Regions from separate parts of the Homo sapiens genome. Here all the other regions are linked to region 2. Evidence: promoter capture Hi-C in human tissues and cell types (Jung and others, 2019). All regions are on one chromosome and are shown on one strand. The core of a region is centred on a gene start or on the middle of the fragment in contact, and the rest is flanking DNA. Distances in the headings are between cores, read along the strand shown.

Evidence for each region. The method cuts DNA at HindIII sites, captures the fragments that hold promoters and counts their contacts. A contact is called where the count stands out against the background at its distance.
Region 1: a fragment that was not itself captured here is called in contact with the fragment with the promoter of FRZB in region 2 in 2 of the 25 tissues and cell types used here (mesenchymal stem cells and neural progenitor cells).
Region 3: a fragment that was not itself captured here is called in contact with the fragment with the promoter of FRZB in region 2 in 2 of the 25 tissues and cell types used here (mesenchymal stem cells and neural progenitor cells).
Region 4: a contact is called between a fragment that was not itself captured here and the fragment with the promoter of FRZB in region 2, in 2 of the 25 tissues and cell types used here (heart left ventricle and mesendoderm cells).

Annotation. Positions count from the first base shown.
Region 1 is chr2:182,795,814-182,798,513 of GRCh38, forward strand. No RefSeq gene overlaps it. Among named protein-coding and RNA genes, the nearest start is that of FRZB, 69 kb to the right of the region's middle. The HindIII fragment of the contact is 5,379 bases long and covers 1-2,700 here.
Region 2 is chr2:182,865,195-182,867,894 of GRCh38, forward strand. It overlaps FRZB (frizzled related protein), which reads right to left and starts at 1,443. Exons shown (of 6, transcript NM_001463.4): 1 at 881-1,443. The coding sequence starts at 1,358. RefSeq lists an enhancer at 606-1,574. The HindIII fragment of the contact is 7,330 bases long and covers 1-2,700 here.
Region 3 is chr2:182,972,701-182,975,400 of GRCh38, forward strand. The region is part of intron 15 of NCKAP1 (NCK associated protein 1); the gene reads right to left. Among named protein-coding and RNA genes, the nearest start is that of NCKAP1, 64 kb to the right of the region's middle. The HindIII fragment of the contact is 7,019 bases long and covers 1-2,700 here.
Region 4 is chr2:182,990,791-182,993,490 of GRCh38, forward strand. All of the region lies in intron 8 of NCKAP1 (NCK associated protein 1), which reads right to left. Among named protein-coding and RNA genes, the nearest start is that of NCKAP1, 46 kb to the right of the region's middle. The HindIII fragment of the contact is 4,014 bases long and covers 1-2,700 here.

The DNA.
Region 1 (2,700 bases), core at 33-2,532, 70 kb before region 2:
TAGAAATGAACTCAATTTTATTTCAAATGAAACATAACTGAAGGGAAAAGGGAAACTCATCCATGGAACTATGAAAAATTAATTTGACTGTATGTGTGCAGTCTAGGGAAAATGCAAATAAATCTTGAACTCTTTTTCGTAGTTTTTTTTTTTAATTATGATATGGGTGTAGCAGTTCCTAAATTCCCTGTATACCATGGAACTGAGCAAATGAGTTAATATGTTGATGTTGTTGAGAGCTGGGATTCTCATTATGGGGGAAAAGAAGTTCAAATGCAGAAAGAATAAAGTCAAGAAAGTGGAGTTGGATTGAAATTGGAGGCGTAAGCCAACAGGGAAGGTAGGTGTGTGCATGGATGGATGGGTAGACATGGTGGTATGCTGGAGCTTAGTCCTATTGGCTCATTAGACACAATTATGCATCTTTTCCCAAATCTGCATTTAGTGACCTCACATTAGTAGCTTGAAACCAGCCAGTACTTACACCATGGAAATTGGCAAATACTAGAAATTAGGTCTTCTGGCCCCTTCCCCCAGACCTAGTTGTTAAACTTTTCCAGCTCACCACTGGATAGATACGTTTTGTAGCTCTATCTGCTTAAAAGGTCTAAAAGCAATTACACCTCAGCAGAAAACCTCAGCATGTAATGTCCAGATCTTAGCTTCTAAATTTCATTCCTTGGTTGGAAAAATTACTGATTTCAGGACTGCCATAGAAAAGGTACAGGTGGGGCTACAACATCTTTTTATGACAGAAAGTAAGGATCCACTCAAAAACTAAAATACCTATGTCATAAGGACACACAAGGCAGCTTGAAGGGACATCCTCTGTCCAAATCTCAGACATCAATACAAGGTCAGTAATAAATTATAACCCATTGAATAAAATAGGAGTCCCTGAGGCCATACTGATGATAGAATGAGAAAGGGAGGGGGGCATAAAAGGGGAGGGAAGGAAAGACAGAGAAGCCAACAAAGGCTCTTCCTTATAGCACCATGTAAACTGATAAATGAAGGAGTGCTGGAGTTATTTTTTTTAAAAAATCAACATTTTGTGATGATACTAGCAAAAATTGGTTCAGAAAAAAAGTAATCCAAAAAAAAAGGATGCTAAATTGGGGAAATTCAATAAGGAGCGGAAGCATTTCTGTGGTCTCAAAGTGTCTCTCCACAGACTTTATTAGTTACAAGGGGGAAAAGAGTAACTATAGAGTAGAAGGATGATTACACCTCAACCAGGTGATCGTATTACCAATGGGGAGCAAAGGGATAAAGTGTATCTCCAGATATAATGTCCTGAGAAGGAAATATTACTTTTATGGTATTCCAGCTGGGTGTGTATAACCTGAATCTAATAAAGAGGGAACATCAGAGAACCCTAAATTGAGAAACATTTTAAAATATCAATATCAAAAACATCTTTGAAAAGACACCACCAAAGAAAGTACAGACAATAAACACATAAAGTACGCTCAAGATAATTAGTCATTAGGGAAATGCAAGTTACAACCATAATAAGATACTACTACACAATTGCTAGAATCATTATAATTAAAGATAGGCCATTGTAAATATTGGCTAGAAAATGGAAGATCTGGCCAGGTATGGTGGCTCATGCCTGTAATCCCAGCACTTTGGGAGGCCAAGGCGAGTGGATCACCTGAAGTCAGGAGTTCAAGACCAGCCTGGCCAACATGGCAAAACGCTGTCTCTACTAAAAATACAAAAATTACCTGGGCGTGGTGGCAGGCTCCTGTAATCTCAGCTACTCGGGAGGCTGAGGCAAGAGAATCACTTGAACCTGGGAGGTGGAGGTTGCAGTGAGCCAAGATCGTGCCACTGCACTCCAGCCTGGGTGACAAGAGTGAAACTCCTTCTCAAAAAAAAAAAAGAAAAAAGAAAACGGAAGATCTGGAACTCTCATATAACGCTATTGGAATACACAATTGTACAACCACTTTAGAAGTTTAACAGTGTAAGTTAAACATACACCTATCATATAATACAGGCATTTCCTTATAGGTATTTACCTAGAAGGTACATAAGTCTATACAAAGACTTGCTTGTAACTATTCATGGTTTCATATGTAACAGCCATGGAAACAACCCAAATGTCCATCAACAGGTGAATGGATAAATAATCCACACAAAATAATACTTCTCAATAAAAATGAATGAGGCTGAGCACAGTGGCTCATACATATAATCCTAGCACTTTGAGAGACTAAGGTGGGAGGATCACTTGAGTCCAGGAGTTTGAGACAAGCCTGGGCAACATAGCAAGACCCCATCTCTAAAAACAACAAAAAGTTTTAATTAGCCAGGTGTGATGGTGTGCACCTGTAGTCCTAGCTACTTTGGAAGCTGAGGTGAAAGAATCACTTGAGCCTAGGAGTTTGAGGCTGCAGTGAGTTGTGATCGCACCACTACGCTCCAGCCTGGGCAACCAAGAGAGACCCCATCTCTGATAAATAAAATAACATAAAATAGATAAAATTTAAAAATGAAACACTGATACATGCAACAACATAGATGACTCAAAGTAGTTATGCTGAAAGAAAAAAGCTACATACCTTGTCATTTCATTTATATAAAATTCTAAAAACAGTGATGGAAGGCACATTAGTGGTTGCGTGGGAAATGAGAAAAGAGTGAGTGGCTGGAAGAAGTTACAAAAGAACACGAAGAAACATTTGGTGG
Region 2 (2,700 bases), core at 193-2,692:
CAATTTTTTTTTCAAAACATGAGAGTGGAATAAGGGGTGAGATTTAAAATAACATTACGTGAGTGTATGATAACACGCCTTAAATATAACTCCTTTCATCTGTATGCCACTTATAAAATGACTTGAAGGCATGTGGGCATGTGAAAAGAGCTCAGTAATTTCAGTCTGCCAGCTCTATGGCAAGCCACAGAAGCTAATTAACAGTGCATAGCAATGTTTCACAATTGTTTCATTCTGGAATGGAAGAACAATTTATCTCATTGAAAGGAGGGGGAAATTTAAGGTGAAGGTAATTGCTCAAACTGGATCTTGAGCAAACACATACCCCTAACATCTGTCGGTTAGAGTAAGGTTATTGAAATTATCTTGGCATTTTTAATTAGAAGAAAATGGGGCTTCAGTTTTCTGTTTCCTCCACACAATCTTAACAAGCATCTAAGACACTAAAGATACAGAAACCTGATGACTGAGATTGCCTGAGAATCAGCAAAGAAAACCCAATGATTATAAACACATTTTAAAAGAAAAAGAGCATCACTTTACAAAATGTGGCTACTTGCACATGTAAGGAGTTGAAGTGAAGGATTCCTGTGGAGTAGAAGTGTGATGGGTTTGGAATGCATGGATTGTTTTAGAAAGATCGCCTATTGGAACACAGTGCCAGAGTGCATCAGTTTGGAAGGTGATAAGGTGAGGGTTTTTTTGTTTTTGTTTTTGAAAAAAGAAGAAAGAAGAAGAAGGGTCTTTGATAGAGGAGCAGTTATGGGAGAGATTAAGTGATCCGAAGAGAAAAAAATTAGAGAGTAAAGGCTAGTAACAAGGACTCCAAGAATTGAGGAGGCTGTAGGGTAAGGGAAGGGTGGGCCGTGTCAAAACTCACCAGCTCCGTCCGCAGTAACGATGGCCTCGGGAGAGATGCACACGCCCCTGTCGTACACTGGCAGCTCCTCGCAGGCCAGGTTCTCCGGCCACGAGTGGCGGTACTTGATGAGTATGGGCTCACAGCCCTGCCGGGCCCGCTCGCACACAGACTTACAGGGCTTGATGGGCTCGTGCTGGAAGTCAATGGTGCAGATGGGCGCGTACATGGCACAGAGGAAGAAGAGCAGATCGGGGCTGCAGTGGGTGCCCAGCAGACCTTCGAACTGCTCGATGGCCAGGATGGCGTTGGCCTGAGTGCTGTGGTGCAGGTGGTTGGGCATCTTAGTCATGTTCCAGGGCAGGGACTTGCACAGGGGGATGCGGACGGGCTCACAGGCTGCAGCCCGAGCCCCGGGCACCCGGAGCAGGCAGAGAGCAGCCAGGGCAAGCAGCCCGGCCCGCAGCAGCAGCATCCCTCCCGGGCTGCCGCAGACCATGATCCCGGCAGGATGGGGCAGGGTGCAGCCGCGCAGTGGACGCCAAAAGGCCCGCTCCGCCGTCTCCGCCTCCCCCGCTGCAAGTGGACACAAGGATCTGGGAGCTTCTCCTCCCCCGGCAATCACCGCTTCCTTGGATCAAATTCCCCCAATGGGGTCCCACGAGCTTTACCGAGCTCCAGCCACCGCCCCTGCCGCCCAGGCTGCTCTTTCCCAACGTCTAAGCCTTCGGAAGCAGCAACATCTATTTATTCCTCTCCCTCTGGCAGAAGCATCAGACTTCGCAGATCAGTCAGATAAGAGGGACACGAGAGGAGGCGAGGAAGACATAAAAACAAAAGTAGAATTCAGCTGAGAGCTAGTTGGAGCTCTGGGGTGTCTCCTCCCCTAGATCACGCACACAAAAAGATGCTAAAGAAAGCATTAAATTCCCCAAAGTGAGGAGGACAGAGGGGTTGGGGGGAAGGAGGGAGGAAAAGCTCCTAATGGGAGAGAAGGGTGCAGTAAGAGTTTACAAGTCCTGTGTGGGCTAAGAGCTGCGGCCGCCGCTGCGGCTGCGACCCTGGCTGGCAGGAGGGACGCTCAGGAGGAGCCCCGCAGGGACGTCTGTGCCTCTGCCCGGGCGGCTCTGCACTTTCCTACCTCCCGCCTGAGAGGGAGCTCCGCCCCTGGGGCAGTCTCTGCCCTCCAGTGCCGGCTGCTCTTCCCGAGAATGGAGTGGGCGCCCGGGGAAGAGAAGGCCTGGGAGTCGCAGGCGGTGGGGTGCGAAGCCGTGCGAGTGCGAGACCCCAAGACAGCGCCGAGTCGAGCGCGCCCTCACACTAGGGAACCCGTCTTTGGCCCCAGAAACGAGCCCCTAGCCCCTCACTGAAGAGCCCACCCCAATTCCCTACGGAAAAGTCCCCCTAGTTCCCCACTTGGGAACCCACCCGAGACCCTCCTTCCTGGAGGTATTTCCTTTAAGCAAACTACAGCTTTTCCTCTGCAATCACTGGCTCTGCAGAAAGTCAGACCTGGTGGGGGGAAAGGCTTAAGCAATGTCACTTTGTCCAAGTAGCGGAAAACACAGACCCCTGCGAGCAACGGTGGAGCCATATCAACCCAGAGCTAGTGACTACAGAGGTCTCCATTTTCAATAACTGCGGGGGAGGAGGTGGGGGGAGGATTGCCTTTAAAAAAAAAAAAAAAGAGAGAGAGAAACAAAGAAATGCTGTTCATGACTACAAATAGGCCACCAGAAGCAAGGAAAAGGGGTTTTTTCCTTCTATTCCCGCCCCCCCCACCTAGTGGAATTAGAACTCTTGAGCTTTGCTCCTTAAGGGTTAACGTGGAAACTAACAGC
Region 3 (2,700 bases), core at 146-2,645, 110 kb after region 2:
AATGGAATATTATTATGCCATAAAAAATGAAATCCTGTCTGTTGCAACAACATAGACGGAACTGGAAGAAATTATGTTAAGTGAAATAAGCCAGGCACAGAAAAACAAATGTCACATGTTCTTACTCCTAAGTGGATGCTAAATAAATTGATCTCATGGACGCAGAGAATAGTATGATGGTTATAAGAAGCTGAGTAGGGAAGGTAGGAAGTGGGAATAAAGAAGGATTGGTTAATGGGTACAAAAGTACAGTTAGGAGGAATAAGAACTAGTATAGCACAATGGGGCAACTATAGTTAATAATTTTCTGCATCTTTCAAAATAACCAGAAGAGTAGATTTGGAATGTTTCCAATATGATGATATGTGTTTGAGGTGATGAAATATTCCCACTACCCAGATTTGTTCATTATACACTGTATGCTTGTATCAAAATATCACATGTACCCCCATAAATATGTACAACTATTATGTATTCATAAAAATTTAAAATTAAAAAAATTAAATCAGAATTTAAATAACATTGTGAAAACAAATTCAGAAGAAATGGATGGTAACAAAACAAGATAATGATTTAACTGCTTGACAACAATGGGGGGAGAAACATGTTACTAAAAAAGAATAGGTTTAAGTAAAAGAATATAAACAATTTGAATAAATTAGAAGACAGACGAGAGAAGATATTTGAAAGAGCAACTAAAAATGCTTAAGGGACTGATGGAATACACAACAGAATGAGATCACTTAGGAAGTAGAAAAGAATGACAAAAATACAAAGAGAATTCTTAAGAGTAGGAAAAGGACAGAGAAAGATGAAAGTGACCTATAAAAAAGCAATGACCTTAGAACCAAACTAAATAGGACACCAGTGAAGGCACAAAGTACACTACTAAAATTCTCCCAAAGGCTTACTCTTCTGGTCTGCTCTACTCAACCACTACTGGCTATCTATAGAACTCTTCACCACTCTCTGGCCATGTGCTTTTACCTAACAATTCTTGCACTTCTACCTGAAACCAAAGGTCAGTGATCAAAGGCAGATCATTCATAGTTCTTGTGAATATTTTCCCCTTCTTACAGTAATCCTTTATACTCAAAAGTCTCTTTACTTGCTCTTTACTCATTGTTTGTCCTTTCCTTTTTCCTATTCAAAGCAATTTTAACTTGAAAAATGCTTTATCCCTTCTAAGACTGAAATTAACTGATAAACATATTCTGTCTATGACATCTCTTAATCTTTCAGATTTTCAGCTGCTATTTTTTACATTTTTTATGCTTTGTCTCCATAGCTAGATTATAAAATCCTCAAAAGATGAATGTGCTATTTTTCTACAGATTATATAATACTGCTCAGTATTTTATCTTCTGTATCCTACAGTCTAATCTGTAGGCTTGGAACTTTCACCTTTGAGCTGCTTTTCAATACCTATGTAAACCTTCTAGATTCTGGACCCTGCCTGCTACCTTGCACTTTTGTTCTCTACTTCTAGTGAACACTTCTCTGGCTTAGTGTTATGTCCCATTCTTTCCTTCCTTTGTATGCATTGTCCTGTTGTCACTAAAAAAAAAAAAAAAAAAAAAAGGGTCTGTATGCAGTAGAAAGGGTCTGAGTGACTGCATGTTCTAAACGTGGTTAACAGCAATGTTATGCATTGAATTGTATCCCCGAAGAAAAGATGTGCCTAAATCCTAACCCCCAGTACCTCAGAATGTGACCTTATTTGGAATTAGGGTCTTTCCAGAGCTAAGCACATAAAAATGAGGTCATTTGAATGGGACCTAATCAAATATAACTGGTAGCCCTATAAAAAGGGAAAATTTGAACATGAAATATGCAAAGAGGAAAAATGAAGTGAAGAAACACAGGGAGAATGCCTTTAGAGTAATGCAACTACAAGCAAGGAACAACAAAGATTACCAGCAAATCACCAGAAGCTAGGAGAGAGAGATGGAAGAGGTTCTCCCTTGCAGTCCTTGAAACAAACCAACCCTGCCAACACCTTGCTTTCAGACTGCCAGCCTTCAGAACTATGAAATAATACATTTCTATTGTTTAAGCCATCTAGTTGGTACTTTGTTATGGCAGCCCTAGGAAACTAACACAAGTAGGTATAGATTACATGAAAAAAAAATCAGATAGCTAGCTAATAATGCTCTTATAAAAATCTTAAAAAACTTTAAAAATCTACACATAGGAATAATCAGGTCTACATTCTTCATGTTCACTCAATGCTTTTTATTTTGCAGTGACTGAAAAAGGCTAAAATTCTCACATGAATAACTCAAATGTAAGGGTGCATCTGAAATGCATCTAAATCTCTAAAATTCTCTGAGCCCAAGTATTGGTTTAGGCACTCCTATAAACCCAGAACAGGAGATTGAAGCAGTTCAAGCTTTATGACAATGACTTTCAAAGTTTTAAACATGTATATCCTTTGGCAGAGGAAATTCCACTTCTTTTTTTTACAAGTTCTACTTTTGTATTGTTTCATTGCCTTTTTAAAAACAAAGAGGTGTCAATTTTAAAACTTTATTTGTAATAAGAAAATAACCTATAATATATACACATTTAACATTTTGGGATGTTGGTATTTCAAGTGTACTTCCCTGATCTCCCACTAACTGGTAAGGTATTTAATGCTTTTATTTATAAAAGTCTTCATTTCTAAAAATAAGCTCCCTAGAGAATATAGAACAAAAA
Region 4 (2,700 bases), core at 146-2,645, 130 kb after region 2:
TTCTTAGCTCAAGCTTCCTTCTTGGGTCACTAGAGAAGCAAGCTAACTCTCTAAGTAGGCATATTTTGTAGAATCATACACACATATTTAACTTCTTTGACTTGAACTATACAAAAATATTTTTCATACAACAGGGCCCCTAAAACAAGCCAATTATTCAATCTGGCACACAATCAAAGAAACAGAATACATGTATGAAAGATTAAAGAGCCCTCAAGAGAAATTTTGTTTATAAAACATTATCCTCTTATGTACTTGACTTTCCACCCTAATATCAAGTGAAATCAGATTTCACTTAGTGTCTTACACCTTTGTACGTTAACACTTACAAAATACTTGCTACTACTAATACAAAGTTTCTCTGAAAATTTTTATCACTTACAAGTTAAAAGTGTTTGTTTTTAACATACGTGTTATGAGTTAAAGTATATTTATTTGTTTAAATTGGACCAAAAAAGGCAAATGAATTTAAAATAGATTGCCCAGGCTGGGCATGATGGCTCACACCTGTAATCCCAACACTATGGGAGGCCAAGACAGATGGATCACTTGAGGTCAGGAGTTTGAGACCAGTTTGGCCAACATGGTGAAAACCCCATCTCTACTAAAAATACAAAAATTAGCCAAGCATGGTGGTGGGCACCTATAATCCCAACTATATGGGAGGGTGAGGCAGGAGAAACGCTTGAACTTGGGAGGTGGAGGGTGCAGTGAGCTGAGATCATGCCACTGCACTCCAGCCTGGGTGACAGAAAAGACTCAAGTCTCAAAAGAATAAAATAAAATAAAATAGATTGCCCAAGATTAGGGGGATGACTTATTAATTAAACTACACATCAATCTCCTTTACCAAAATTAGGATGAAAGGACAAAAAAAAAAAAATTTAAAAGTAGCTCTTAAAACAGAAGACCAAGTCTTGACAAGAAAGTTGAAGAAAATCTTTGAAGGCAGAAAACAGATAAAATTGGACTATCAATATAAAAAACAAGGCAGAAATTAGTAATCCAAAACTCTGGAGATAGGAAAAAAAATCTTTCCTAAGGAGTCTCCCAAGTCCAATCAACAGACCCAAAAATGAACCCTAAAATACGTATCAGGATAATTAATTTTACATCTGTACTTCAAGTGCTGGGTCCTCAATATTCTAGGTCCTGCACAACTCTTAGCATCGGGCTATAATCTAGAGCAGTGATTCTTAAACTTTAGCTTGCACCAGAATCACTGAGAAAGTACATTAAACAGATTGTTAAGATCCATCTGCAGAGTTTCTGTTTAGTAGGTCTTGGGTAGGGACCAAGATTCTGCACATCTAAGAAGTTCCTAGGTGTTGCTGATGTTGCTGGTCTAGGAACCACACTTTGAACTAATCCAGAACAAAGGTCCAAAGAAAGTAGACTACCTATTGAAGAAAAATCCTAGTCTGGGTAGTAGTTCCAAAAAGAGAAGTGCAGAATTTGAGGCAACTCCTAACCTCCAGATTAGCTCTACTCAGGGTTCAAATACATGAAAGAAGCAAAATTCATTCCTTATTTTGGCAACTGTGGTTATCCCAAATCTGCCTTCTCCATGCCCATATATTCCCCATTAGGGGAGCCTGCTTCCTGATCGACTTACCGGCTCATTACACAAACTCATGCCATCAGCATTCCCGTTTAAAATAAAGACCAGTGGGAAGCAAAATCCAGAAGTCACTAATGACAGCTAACTCTACTAATTAACTCAATTATTCATCTGTACATCCATAAGCACAAAACAACTAATAATTACCACACAACCGAGCAAGATCAAAACTCTGAAAGCTGTTTTTCTAAATAAACTATGAGACAAAGCATGATAATTTCACTTATCTTTATAGAAGAAAATATAAATATCACAAACCTGGTCAATGTAAAAAATAATATAATTAATAAAAATAGCTACGGCCAGATAGTATTGTTAAATTTCCCCTCTTTCATACTAAAAACACACTACTCAAAGTATCAGTCCATAATGAGACTAAGTATTGGAACAGGGTATTTAGAAATTTTCATAAATATTTCACAGTGATTTTGGAGTAGAAACTTAATAATCTGTTAGACTGAATCTAGTAATAAAAACTATGAGCTTGTATTTTATGTCTTTATTATTTTGTTTTTCTGGTAATTCTAGTAATTCATTTTCTTTATTTTATTAAAGGATCAATCCAAAAAATATTAAAGAAGAAAAACTAGTCCTTCACCATAGTTTGAGAAACACTGTAATAAAAAGTCAACAAATACAGTCATCTCTCAATGTAGGGGATTGGTTCCAGGACCATCAACAGATACCAAAATCTGTGGATGCTGAAGTTCCTTATATAAAATGGTGTAGTATTTACATATAACCTACACACTTCCTCCTGCATAATTTAAATCACCTCCAGATTACTTGTAATACCTAATACAATACCTACACATCACTTCATTTGCGTGGACTCAATGTAATACTCATTATGCAGTAAGTTTTGCTTTTTGGACCTTTGTGAAATTTTTTCCCGTATTTTAATTGGCTGTTGACTGAATCTCTGGATGCAGAACCCCAGGATATAAAGGGCCAACTCTATTCTCTAAAGGTTAATAAATCAAGAACAAAACCTGTAAGAATGAAAAAACACAAACACTTCAAAATTATTCCCCTGTGGCAGTGAGCCTAGGGGTGAGTAGGAGGAATTTATCTATATT